2 separate regions of the Homo sapiens genome follow, and region 2 is linked to region 1. The links are contacts of gene promoters, found by promoter capture Hi-C in blood cells and fetal thymus (Javierre and others, 2016). All regions are on one chromosome and are shown on one strand. The core of a region is centred on a gene start or on the middle of the fragment in contact, and the rest is flanking DNA. Distances in the headings are between cores, read along the strand shown.

What was found. Contacts are between HindIII fragments. The CHiCAGO score rates a contact against its expected background, and 5 or more counts as called.
Region 2: a contact is called between a fragment that was not itself captured here and the fragment with the promoter of LINC01949 in region 1, in 1 of 17 cell types (monocytes). The highest score is 5.2, in monocytes.

The regions. Positions count from the first base shown.
Region 1 is chr5:87,236,250-87,243,029 of GRCh38, reverse strand. LINC01949 (long intergenic non-protein coding RNA 1949) reads left to right here and starts at 3,829. Exons shown (of 3, transcript NR_130914.1): 1 at 3,829-3,964; 2 at 4,049-4,215. The region is part of intron 2 of LOC101929380 (a long non-coding RNA gene); the gene reads right to left. The HindIII fragment of the contact is 4,009 bases long and covers 63-4,071 here.
Region 2 is chr5:86,622,750-86,629,529 of GRCh38, reverse strand. No RefSeq gene overlaps it. Among named protein-coding and RNA genes, the nearest start is that of SNORD138, 5.6 kb to the right of the region's middle. The HindIII fragment of the contact is 1,561 bases long and covers 2,781-4,341 here.

The DNA.
Region 1 (6,780 bases), core at 2,580-5,079:
GCTTTTCATATACATGGGAACATGATGGGACTTTATTTGCTTATTCATTTCTTTAAAAAGCTTTTCATTTTGAAAAAAGTTCAAGATTAGAAAAAAGTTACTAAGTATGACACAGAATTCCTATATTTACTTCATCAAACTAGTCTTAGCATCTTACCACACAGCAAGTATCAAGCAGGAAATATTGAGAAAATATTAACTAATTTATAGATCTCATTCAAATTTCATTATTTATTTCCCTAATGTTTTTATCTGATCCACACATTGCATTTAGGTGTCGTGTCTCCTTGGTCTCTTCCAATCTGTAAGAGTTCCTCAGTCTTTCCTTGACTTTCAGTTCCCTGTCTTCCATAACTTTGATACTTTTAAAGATAACTGGTCAGGTTCGTTTTTGTTTTTTCTTGTACTCACTGACAGCAGATGGTCAGGTATTTTGAAGAATGTCCCTCAGTATGTGTTTGATGTTTCCTCATAATCACATTCGGTTTAGGCATTTTTTGCAAGACTAGGACAGCAGTCTTTCTGTCTTTCTCAGTGTGTCATAGTAGAAGACACATGATTGATACATCTCAGTACTGATTATGTTACCCTTGAGACACATTGATATCATGTGCCCCTTGACATTATTCACTGAGAAAAGGCACAACATGTTCAGACATGCTCTTCTCCTTTTCATTGGCTGAATGTTTTTGTTTAGAGTGACCCTGGAAGTTATCTGTGGTAGATAAAACCTCCTTCAGATTGGGTCCCCAAATGATTGTGTGGAGCAGAATCACCTCCAGCTTCACCCACTAACTTAGAGTTATGTTGGTCTGTTCATGTGTAAGAAAAACAAACTTTTATTGTGTTTGAGACATTGTACATTTTGGTTCTTTTCACCCTCTTCAGCTTCCCAAAGTGCTGGGATTACAGGCAAGAGCCTGTAGAAGAGTCATTTGCCTACTTCATTACATTACCTAGGATTAGTTAGATTCACTTCCCTGCTGGGGAAAGCACTTCATCCAAAAACATTTCTGTGATTTTCTTCTCTTTTATTGATAGTTGCTAAGTCTGTCTCTGTAGCACACATCTCCCATCAATATTTCTATTTAGTTCGTTTCAAACTCAAGTACCCTGAAATATTTTAAGTTTAACATCCCACTCCTATCTTTAATTGTACCATATTTCAAGTTGTCATTAAGAACCCCCAAATTCATCTTTTTTCACGGTATTTAATAAGATTTATCAACATGTTCACCAAGTATTATTTTTTACAGACATTGCTTTTTGCATTCTGCATACTTCAGCAGTTATTTTAAAGAGGGTCTGCAAGTGGTACATTCTGTCTTATTCTGAGAAATGTTTATTTCACAATACATCTTGAATGATAGTTTTGCTCTTTGAAAATAACTCTTTTCTAGTATCAAACTTGTAAAACTGAAAATGGATTAAATTCACCTGAAAAATACAGAGATTCCCAGATTGGATTAAAAAAACTAAGTTTAGGCTATATGCTTTTTTAAAGAATCACACCCAAAATATAATAATCTCAAGAGGCTGGGCGCAGTGGCTCTTGCCTGTAGTCGCAGCAGTTTGGGAGGCTGAAGCGGGTGAATAGCTTGAGCTCAATAGTTCGAGATCAGCCTGGCTAACATGGTAAGACCCCATCTCTACTAAAAATACAAAAATTGGCCAAGCATGGTGGCACACACCTGTAATCCCAGCTACTCTGGAGGCTGAGGCATGAGAATCACTTGAACCCAGAGATGAAAGTTGCGGTGAGCCGAGGTTGCACCACTACATTCTACCCAGGGCTACAAAGTGAGATTTTGTCTCATAATAGTAATAATCTCAAAAGACTGAAATTATATCAGGTGCTCAGATAATGTTACTTTGTTATAATGTTGATGGGAAAAAAAATTAATTCATGGTTGAGGCTAATGTCTTTGTGAAATTTGCACCTTTTCCCCATGTCTGTGTGGATTTTCTCCAGGTACTCCAGTTTCTTCCCACATCCTGAAGATGTGTATTTCAGGTGGGTGGGCATGTGTCAGCGATCTCAGTCAAGGTGAGTGTGGGTATATGTATGAGTGTGCCCTGTGTTGGGATGGTGTCATGGCCAGGGTTGCTTCCCACCTTGTATCCTGAACTGCTGAATGGGCTTTGGCCTCCTGTAACCTGAACTGGAGTAAGTGGGTTGGAAAATGAAAGAATAAATGAATACAAATTATTATAAGATAAAATATAAAGTATTTGATAATCATACAAATGCAAAATAATAAGAAATGTTGTATGAAAGTGCTTAGAGAGTCTGCCTTATTGAATATTGTTTGTTTTTGAACTGTGTGTTGGTAGGAGGTACTCCTGACAATTTTCACTTTACAAACATTTATTTCTTGATTTAACCTACCACCAGGATGACGGCTGTCACTCACTGATTCACCAAAAATTGGACAAATTGCTTACTTATTTTTGTTGATTTTTCTTAAATGTATGTATAGCTTACATTTATATCAATATTCAACATTAGAAGTGTTTCAAGTCTTCACTTAGAAATTTGTTGATGTTTTTGTGATACAAATATGCCATAGGAACTAATTCTTGTTTATATTAATTAGCCTATAGTAAAACTGGTTTTGTTACATGGCATCTCACTTGAAGTTGAAGTTTCCAAGACCCTATCAACAACGTTGAGAACTTACTGTCATAGGTTGAAAAACTGTACACCAGGAACCGGACCAAAATAGATCTGACAGTAATATTGATATTAGAAAACAACTTTAAGTCTAATAATGATTTTTCTCTAAAGAGGTTGATTACTTCATGATAGAAGGATCATGTCACCATGATGACACAGACTGTTAGTGCACATCAATATCCATTTTGTCCTCTTCTTTTTTGGCATACAACCAAAACTTACATAGGCTTTTTATCATTTTACTGGGCCTATGTAACTGAGTTTTAGCCAGTGGAATATGTCCAAGTGACATTTGCCACTTCTAGGTCTGGCACATTAACACTTGATGTATTACATTTCAGACCCTCTTATCATTCTGCAGTGTGTTTGGCGATCTGTTGTTTAAGATCTATATGCACTGGTTACTGTTGCTTGCCTTCCATTCCTACCCTTACTAATCAGATTCCTATTATAGCTACTTCTGTCCTTGATTCATTTTGTATATTAGATGTGTGTGTGTTCATGTGCATGCATGCACCCTCACATGTAGGTGTATATGGGAGTGGTGGTAAAGACAGGATATTTCTTCAGTTCATGGGATTTTATTTCAGGAGAATTCAAACATTCACGTATTGGAGAAGATGACACATTTCTTGAATGTCTTGGGCTTTGAGCTGAATGCACTAACTAGAAGGGACTTCAGATTGTCCTCCTTCGGGGGAGGTAAGTATATTCTTCATATACAGGTAAGAGTGAAATGATAGAAGAATGTTCCTCCTCTCCTTTTCTTCCTGGACAACAGATCAAATATTTCTCAGATCTTTTACAGCTGAATTGGAGTCACATGGACAGGTATGATCTTAAAATATAAAAAATTATTTTAAAATTACATGCTAAAATTTTATAAAAATAAATGCTAAAACTAACTTAAACGGAAGCATTTGATTAAAAAATTTATCCAAAAAAGTTTGAATTTTATATGAAACAGGATAGAAGATGAAAAAGCTAAAGAAATAAAATATAAATAAATTATGGCTGGGGACAGTGGCTCACACCTGTAATCCCAGCACTTTGGGAGGCTGAGGTGGGAGGACTGATTGAGGCTAGGAGTTTGAGACCTGTTATTTGAGGCACATGGGAAGGAAAGTTTTCTTTGAGATATTCCACATTTTATAATATTCTTCAAGAGATTTACAGAGTTCCTTGAGTGAATTGTTGGTTTGTTCTTAATACTGAATTTCCTATTCAAATTTATTTAGAAGTTCATTTCTTACAGTGATCTCATCTCCTATTAAGATATTCTTCAAGGTAGGTTCTTGGCCAGTTTCTCAATGACAGATTTTTAAAAATATTGTTAATCTTTTTATTAATATGAGAACATAATTGTTCCAGATCTGGAGGCCATCCTTTAAGCTTCTTGCAACAGTCTGGGAGCAAAGAGTTTACTCGCCACTGGGTAGTGGGCCATGGACACCCCAGTCTCCACCAGAAGTTCGGGATTGCAAAATGGGACTCTGGCAGCAAATTTCAAACTGTATGCCAGACCTGGCCCTTTGCAGGTGGGCATCACTAAAAATTTAAATTACCAAAATTGACTCAAGAGTAAATCTATGTCTGAGGAGAAAGCCTTTGGAAAAATTGAATTAGTAAGCAAAAACCTACCCAAAATAAATAACAGTAAGTCTAGAAAATTTTACACAGGGATTACCAACAAACATTCAAAGCACAGAAAAATCTCTTTAGCACAAAATGCTACAAAATACAGAAAAAGAGGAAAATTCTGTAGTTTCTCTCATGAAGTTAATATATTCTAGTTAGCTGAACTAGAAAAATAAGAGAAAGAAAAATTATAGGTTAATCTTCCTTATGAGTACATGCAAGTATCATAAGATGTTGACAAATTGAATCAAGCATTTTAAAAAATGCATTATGATCAAATATGATTTATCCTAGAAATAATGTATGAGAGTTATAAAATTCCCATTAACATTAGGAACAAGCATTAATACTTATTATCTCCACCAATAATCATCATTGCTCTGGAGTTCCTAACCAATGAAATAAGAAAGAAATAACCAGTTATATGGATTAGGGAAGATCAAATATTGATTATTTGAATATTTTTTTTTATAGAAAATCCAATAATTGTACAGCTGAAGAACTGGAATAGGAGAGTTAAGCAAAGTTTCTACATACAAGAGCAAAGTGGTCAAATCAATAGGTTATCTGTAGGCCAGTGCTAATTACATTGACATGGTGGCCTTAAAATTTTTACATGCAATTCATAAATCAGTTTCACTGATATTACTTTACCAGATATTGATATTCTAATGTTGTAATTATACAACTGTATTATTGTGTCAGAAATAAAATTAATAGACCAACAAAACAAAACTCAGAACAGATTCACATATTTGATAACTTGGTGTATGACAAGTGTGACATTAAAATTCAGGAGTAAAATAAAAAAATAACAAATAATGCCGGGATAATTGGTTAGTCACATGGGAAAAAGTCAGAAAGATCTCTGCCTCACTCTATTTACATGGAATATACTTCAGATGAAAGAAACTTAAATACAAAGAGCAAAACTTTAAGACTTTTAGAAAAAGATAGGAGAATTTATGACTTCCAGTAAGGAAAGCTTTCTTAAGCTAGATGCAATGGCATAAACGACAAAATGCATTTTTTTTATAACATTAAATAAAACATGTGTTCCGTAAAAGACACCAAAATACAATTAAGAGATAAGTTACAGTGTCTTAGTCCATTCTGGCTGTATAAAAAAATACCATAGACTGAGTGGCTTAAACAACATTTATTTCTCATAGTTTCTGGAGGCTGAGCAGTCCCAGTCAAAGAGAGCCCACTTTCTAGTTTATAGACCACCATCTTCTCACTATGTCCTCACATGGCAGAAAAACAAGATGGCTCTCTGGAGTACTTTTTACAAGAGCACTAATCCTATTTATGAGGGATTCACCCTCATGATATAATCACTTTCCAATGGCCTCAGATCCAAATACTATCACTTTGGAAGGCAGGATGGGGGTGGGAGGATTGGATTTCAACATAGGAGTTTTTTGGGGACACAAACATTCAGTCCATAGCACACAGACTGGGAGAAAATATCTGTGATGCATACATCTTACAAAATAATTCATATCTAGACTATAAAGAGCTCCTCAGGTAGATAAGAAATATCAAAAGAGAACAAAAACATAAACATAGTTCACAGAAGAGGAGACTCAGATGGCCATAAATATATGGAAAAAATGCTTAACCATTTATCATGAAAATGTGAATGTGAACCAGAGTTTACCTATAACATACAACAAACTTCCAAAATGACTGAAAAACAAAACCTTATATTAGCAAGTAAAACACATACAAACACAAACACACACACTTCTACAGGAGCAGGAATTTATACAACCACTGTGGCAGTCACTATTGGTTACCCATAACATATCTATCCACATTTCTTCTTAAAGAGCAGAAGCACAATTTTATAAGTATGTGATTTCTAGGTTCTCTATGTCTATGCGTCTATTTTTATGCAATATCATGCCATGTAGTTACCATAGCTTTGTCGTATATTTTGAAGTCAGGTAGTGTGATGCTGCCAGCTTTGTTTTTGTTTGTTTGTTTGTTTTTGTTTTTGCTTAGGATTGCTTTGGCTGTTTGGATTTTAGGGTTTTTTTTCTATTTTTGTGAAGAATGTTATTGGTATTTTGATAGGAATTGGATTGAATATGTAGATTACCTTGGATGGCATGGTAATTTTAAAAATATTAATTCTTGCAATCCATAAATATAGGATGACTTTTCATTTTTTGTGTCCTCTTAATTTTTTCATCAGTGTTTTGTAGTTTTCATTTTAGAGATATTTCACCCCCTTTATTAAATTTATTCCTAGACTTTTTTGGGTAGGTATAATTATAAATGGAAATGCTACTGATTTTTGTACGCTGATTTTGTATTTTGCAGCTTTACCGAATTTGTTTATCAGCTCTAAGAGTTTTTTGGTCATCTTTAGCATTATCTATATATAAGATCATGTTATCCGCAAACAGGGACAGTTTGACTTCTTCCTTTCCAGTCTGAATGGCTTTTATTTCTTT
Region 2 (6,780 bases), core at 2,312-4,811, 610 kb after region 1:
ACTCAATAAGCCAAGGACTTCTTCATACTTCACAAATCTTAGCTATTTTCTTATCTTGAACTGTGTTCATAATCTCCCCTTTGGTTGGCATGCTCGTCCATTGAATTCGCTTCCACAGACACTTAGCAAGTATTTACTGTTTCCCAGAAACTGTGTTAGGTAACAGACACAAAATGTAAATATGTCACAGTTGCCTTCAAGGATACTTCATCATTCTTTTAATCTTTATTTGTCAATTTTTTTCTTTTGTCTTTTCTTTAACACTACTTAAGATCCTCTGAGACAAAAAATTTTCACCTCACCTGATAATGCTTATTCTTTTACTCCATACATCTTTTTATTCCATATTCCACAATTTTTTAATTATACTATGTCATCTCTAATTTCTTAGGTCAGGTTTTCTCTGGGAAATGCTTTGACAGTGCTTGAACTGATATGAATATTCACATATTCTAAAATAACATCATTTAGTAGCATATACACAAAGCATCATCTCTATATTCTGAAACTTTTATATAATAAATATATATAATATGAATTTCTAGAAAAGACTACAATAACCTATGGTGAAAATCGTAACATTTATTGCTTCTGGAAGTTGGGGACAGGGATTGACTGGCAAAGGACATGAGAGAACTTTAAAGATTAAGGTAACGTTCTGTATTTTAATAGGCATTTGCATTATACAGATACATTTGTCTAAACTCATTGAACAATTATGATTTTGTGCATTTCGTTGTATGCACATTTTACCTTTCTCTGTCTTTGATTTGTATTTATTTCTTAGCTGTTATATACCTTTCTTCCAGTTCCTTTATTAAACTTTTAGGCAAATCTATCCTTAGGCATCTTACAATTTAAAAGATTACTGTGTTTTTCATGTATTTTTTCTCCCCGTTTGGTTGACTCTTGTTTCCCATCGCTTCCCCATTCTGTTCCTGTTCTAAATTTTTGAATTTCTAATTTATGGTGTTTTTTCTCCCCTAATATTTGCAAATGGTTGTTTGAGGTTAATTCAGATTAGGTTGTGTTAGGGATTTTTTCTGCTGCATGAATGGTATTTATTAGGGGCAGAATTTTCATCAGCTGAAATAAAATGTTAGGCTTCTAAATTTCTACTTTATTCTTATAATAACTTTATGTGACTGTCATCTGTCATATTTTTGCTTTGATTTTTTATGTGCTAATATAATTATTATTAACCTTTGAGAATTTGAGGAAGATAACTAGGTTTTTTTGTTCAAGGGTATTTCACTTGATATGGTGAAATATTATAGTTTCTTTAACCAATGTACTTGTTTGGTTGGGAAAAACTTGGTGTCTTCTGATTTTGTGACCCTCTTTTTGTTTTAACAGGAATATTCATTTCCCCCTTTTGCTTCCTTTTTCTTCTTTTACCTCTAAGGCACCAAGGGCGCAATCTTCTTGACACTTCTATTTACTTGGAAGTGGTGCCATTCTGAAACTCTTGCCTTGGGCTCCATTGATTTTCAAGTTCCTGTCTTTCAATTCCCCATCAGTCACCTACAAGAGCTCAAACTAACTCTCAGTATTTTCTTGCTCTGAGTGGCACTTGGTTTGAGCAATTTTATCTGTATTTTACCATCCCCATTCTCCCTACCCTACATCCCTCATCTATATTCCCATCTTGCCCTCATCTCTGCTTGTCTCCCATTGGGTGTAGGCTCTAGATACAATTTTGCTTGTCTCAAGTGTTTATTTTCCTATTGGTAGGTAATTTAAAATCTATTTCCTAGCTACATTAAAGGTATAGGTTATGAGTGAATTTTCTTTTCCTGACAATCAGCATGATTTTTTTTGGAGGATGTGAAGGGAGATTTAGATTTAAAATAAGTCCATTTTTTTCCTATGAAAACATGGAAATACTTAGAATTCCTTTTCTAAAATCCAGATAATTTACATTAAATCCCACAATGAAAAACATTGCAAGCCATAGTCTTGCTGTAAGTTCATTGTACTCTGCATCCAAAAGTAATGGATTTCAGAGCTGTGTAATTCAGAACTATTTCCCCAAAGCGCAGACTCTTAGTAAAAGGCAACATTTGGGAATTTCAGACCATCTGTTGTATAATTGGTAATGAAATAATGGTACCAAGATTAAGCAGAATTAGTTCTGCTATACTGAGTGTATACAACCCAATTAGTCAATTTTTGGTGTTGGTAAAATCCACAATTTCCCAAAACAGGTGTATATATATATATATGGGTGAAAGGAACTCTACGGGTGGTCCAGTAACTGAAAAGGGAAACTATGACCACTGAACCATCAGAAATTACCATCTGATGGGTTAAAAAAACAGTAAAATTCAGTAATTTCATATGGTTCAACTTAGTATATATTCTGTCTGGGGAAAATAAACAATCACTTTTAAACAATTGTTTTGGTAGCTAGTATGAAGGCTGGAGCGTGAATAAAGATTTCACACTAGGCAGTTTCATAGATGGTATAAAATCCCTCTCACAACATAATGAATGGGAAATTTTTTTGATAATACTAAGCTAATTAGGGTTAAGATAACCCTGATAAATTTATCAATATATGGGTACTTAACAATCACCTCCTGGTCCTCCTTAGAGAGGGATGCATCAAGTAGAGAACTTCCTAGACTGGTTTCTAATGCTTTTAAACTCGAAGATGCCATTAAATCTGATTAGTATTCTTCCATGCCTTCATCTATCTAAATATATTTGTTGAAAGCTTAATATTTACTAAGCATAGTGCTATGTTTTGGAATCCAGCAAAGAAAACACACAAAGCTTATTCTAAAAAATACAGACCCCTATTCAACCCATAATAATTATGCTATCCACCTTTTGTTAGAGCTGGGAAAATTTGGGGGGAGGAGTGAATTTTAGTAGGAATAATCTGCAAAATTCAAAGTTGAGATGACTGTACAGGAATGTAACACAAAGCTGTACTGTTTTACAGTGATACAGAGGTACTGAACAGGAAAGCACGAGGGCTCTGGCATGATGCTGTGTCCCTCTGGAAGAAGAGACTCACTTTCCAATTTTTACAAAAGTATACAATGGGTAAATAGAGTCCATGAAAATGAGAGATAAGGTGGAAATGGCTAGTAGGTAGTTGCTCAGAGCTGCATCTGAAAACCACTTTGAAAGCCCAAGATGACTTATCTCCATCATTCTGGCCCCTGTCCACACATGAAAAGTGCTGAAAAGAGATCTTACCACCTCTGAGTCAGGCTTTTGTGTGGTACCCACATTTGTAATTGTAGATACAATTCACTTTAATTGGGAAGAGTCCTTAAAAGATCATCTAGTTGACACAATTCTTTGACTGAAGAATCAGAGAAGTAGATAAGTGATACTTTTGAAGGACATATGAAGTGCTTAAGTATTCTGAAGGTAGGACAACTTTTACTGCAGTAACTAATGATCCCCAAACCCCAAATGCTTATAACAATGAAAATTTCTTGCTCACTCTATACATCTGACATGGGGCTACACTTACAGAGTCTTTCAGGAACCTAGGCTGATGGAGGCTATATCCCTGTAGCAGGAAGAAGGGAAGTTGGTGAAGGGTATACTGCCTTTTAGAGCTTTCATGTAGAGGTAATGCATGTAACTTCTCAGTTTTTTATTGTCAAAGCAAAGGGGTTAGATTTTGATCCTATGTGTACAGAAATAGAGCTGTCATATTTATGAAAAGCCTTAATGATTACTATACCAGGTTAAGGAAGGAAATGTGGGTACCACACAAATCAACTATACATTTTTTGAATTATATACTCAGTAAAAAATCATCACTGTATTAAGATATATGGAAAGTGGCTATCTTCCCTCTGGGTTATAACGTTACAATAGCTATGATAACAAAACACCATTTGATAATAGATGAAGTTTTTAAAAAGGTTTTGATGTAGGCAGAGTATAAATCATATAAAAGCTCATATTATTATTTTCTATTGAAAGGAGACAGAAAGAAAAAGCATAAACGGTATTTCTGCTCTATTCTATATAGCTTACTCTAAAGACCTATGCTGTGATCTTTATTTATTGGAAACACTAAAATGAAGGCTTATTACATTTTATGGCATTCCAGTCCATCTTTTTAGTATAGTATATAGAATAATTGCAGCAGGCAGTGTCTTTTGCATACCCAATAGCCACTTTCTCTTCCCTTTCTGGTAGAATCCTGACTTGTTTCAGTATCTCCTCTGCCCACGTAAGACTTGTGAGAAAATGCTAATTGATCAAATTTAATCATTGTCATGCTATTCCCTTGCCCGTGTTATATTCAGAAGTGAATTTATCACTTTTCTGGACAGTGACTAATGAGGGATAGTCTGAAGGAAAGCTTTCTTCACTTTGAAAAATAACAAAGACAGTAATTTTTCTTGCTGGGTATTGTCAAGTCTGTATGGGATAACTGGAACTGTAGCAGCCATCTTATGAGAATGAAAGAAATGGTTTAGAAAAAACAGGCTGAGGAACTTGGAGGGCCCTAAAATTCCTGAGCTCCATCTTTTGTTACACAAGATTAAAAAAAATAAAAAATTCCCCAGTTCTTTAAGCCAGTGCTTCTTAAAATGCTGGCTTGATATAAGATGAAGAGCTTTCCTGGAATGTATATCAACACACTTTCCTTCATTAAGGGTTTGTCTGCAAAGAAAAAGAGATATCAGATAGACTAAACAGTGGTGACATAGTTGAGTTACATTTTGGTGCAAATTTAAACTCATTTTTTTTCAACTGGATTATTTCAATACATTTATGTTTGGTGGGAGAACCAATTTCCAACTATCCAGGAAAAATTCATTTTTATTCATAAAGCATTGAAACATACATTTAGTGCGTAAGAGGCCTAGAATTTGTTTTTAGGTAATTTTTATTCTTGGCTTCAGATTATTGAAAGGATTAATAGAATAGAGTGTTAATGGATCACCAGCTAAATTATAGATGCAGGATACATGAATAAAGAAGGCTCTCTGGGCTCAGAAAGATCACAAGCTGGTATGAAAGGTAGATAAGGAAATCAGTAATTACAGTACCTGCTGAATTATAAGGCTGTTTACAGGGTGTTAGAGATTTATGTGGAGTGTGTTAAATCAGGAAGGGACTGGGTTTGGTGGCACATGCCTATAATCTCTCAAAGGAGGAGTAATTGCGGCCAGGAGTATGAGACCAGCCTGGGCAATACAGTGAGACTCAGTCTCCTCAAAAAATAAAAAGTACTAGCCAGGGATGGTGACAAGCCCCTGTAGCCACAACTACTCCAGATGCTGAGGCAGGAGGATCCCCTGGAGGGTGGCAGCCAGCTATGATTGTGCCACTGTACTCCAGCCTGGGTGACAAATCGAGACCCTATCTCTTAAAAAAATAAAATAAAAAGGGAAGGCTTTATAGAAAAGGTGGCACCTGAGCTAAATTAAGACTTGGAGGTGGTACATAAAACTGTGTGATATGGCTGGGATGAGGCTGAAACTATAGGGAAGTGACCATTGTCATGGTGAGGTGTCTTACAGTGAGTAAAATGATGACTTGCATTTTAGCACTATCATTCTGGCATCACTTTTGAAGACACAGTGTCTACAGCACAGACCAATCTATTAACTATTGCAGAATTGCTCTGGGATCAACTTTAACGACTTACACAATGCCCATTATACTTCCCCCATCTCGCTTGTTTCAATTAAGCACTCTACACTAAAAGCTTAAGAAAATTTGCCTCAATTTAGGTGTATTTTCTTTTTTTTTTTTTCTGTTTTCTTTTTTGAGACAGTCTTGCTCTGTCTGCCAGGCTGGAGTGCAGTGGTGTGACCTCGGGTCACTGCAACCTCTGCCTCCTGGGTTCAAGCAATTCTCCTGTCTCGGCCTCCTAAGTAGCTGGGATTGTAGGCGCCCACCACTACACCCAACTATTTTTTTGTATTTTTAGTAGAAATGGGGTTTCACCATGTTGGCCAGGCTGGTCTCGAACTTCTGACCTCGTGATTCACCCACCTCGGCCTCTGAGTGCTGGGATTACAGGTGTGAGCCACTGCGCTGGGCCTCTATTTTCATTTTTAATCTTCACAACTACACCAAATTAGATAAAAGGGAGGTACAGATTGTCGAAGACGAGGAATTTATCAACCCTGGCTTTGAATCCAGCCAAGACTTAGTTCTGAGCCCACATTCTTAACCTCTATGGTCTCTGCAGCAAAACCTAAGACATTTTGAATTACTTCCTTCATTGTGGCCATAACTTAATTACGGAAACAGTGATAGTGACTTCTCTTTAAAACAAATCCTGGATTCTAACCAAAATTCCTATTCCAGTATTCTAGTGAGTTAGGGAAGCATCTGCAAAAGGTACAAACTTTTTACTTGGTCCTGATTAGTTTCACATGGGCATTTGTGGGTTCATCCAGTGTAATTTTTTTTTTTTTCCCCGAGAATCTGGATTTTTATGGAGACCTCCTGGTTTTAAATATTGGCTTGAATTTTAAAAACCAGTTTAGGGAAATAGAAAACTGAACTACTGTTATGGTTAATTTTGTGTCAACTTGGCAAGGACACAGTGCTCAAATATTTGGATCAACAATCCTCTAGATATTTCTGTGAAGGTGTTTCTTGAATTATCATGAGTTTACCATTTAAGTCAGTGGACTTGGAGTAAAGCTGATCCTCCTTATGTGGCTAAGCTTCTTGAATTCGTTGAAGATCTTAATGAACAAAGACTGACCACAAGGAGGTCCTCCCGCAAGGAGGAATTCTGACAGCGACTGCCTTTGCCGAGTCTCCAGCCCGCGGGCA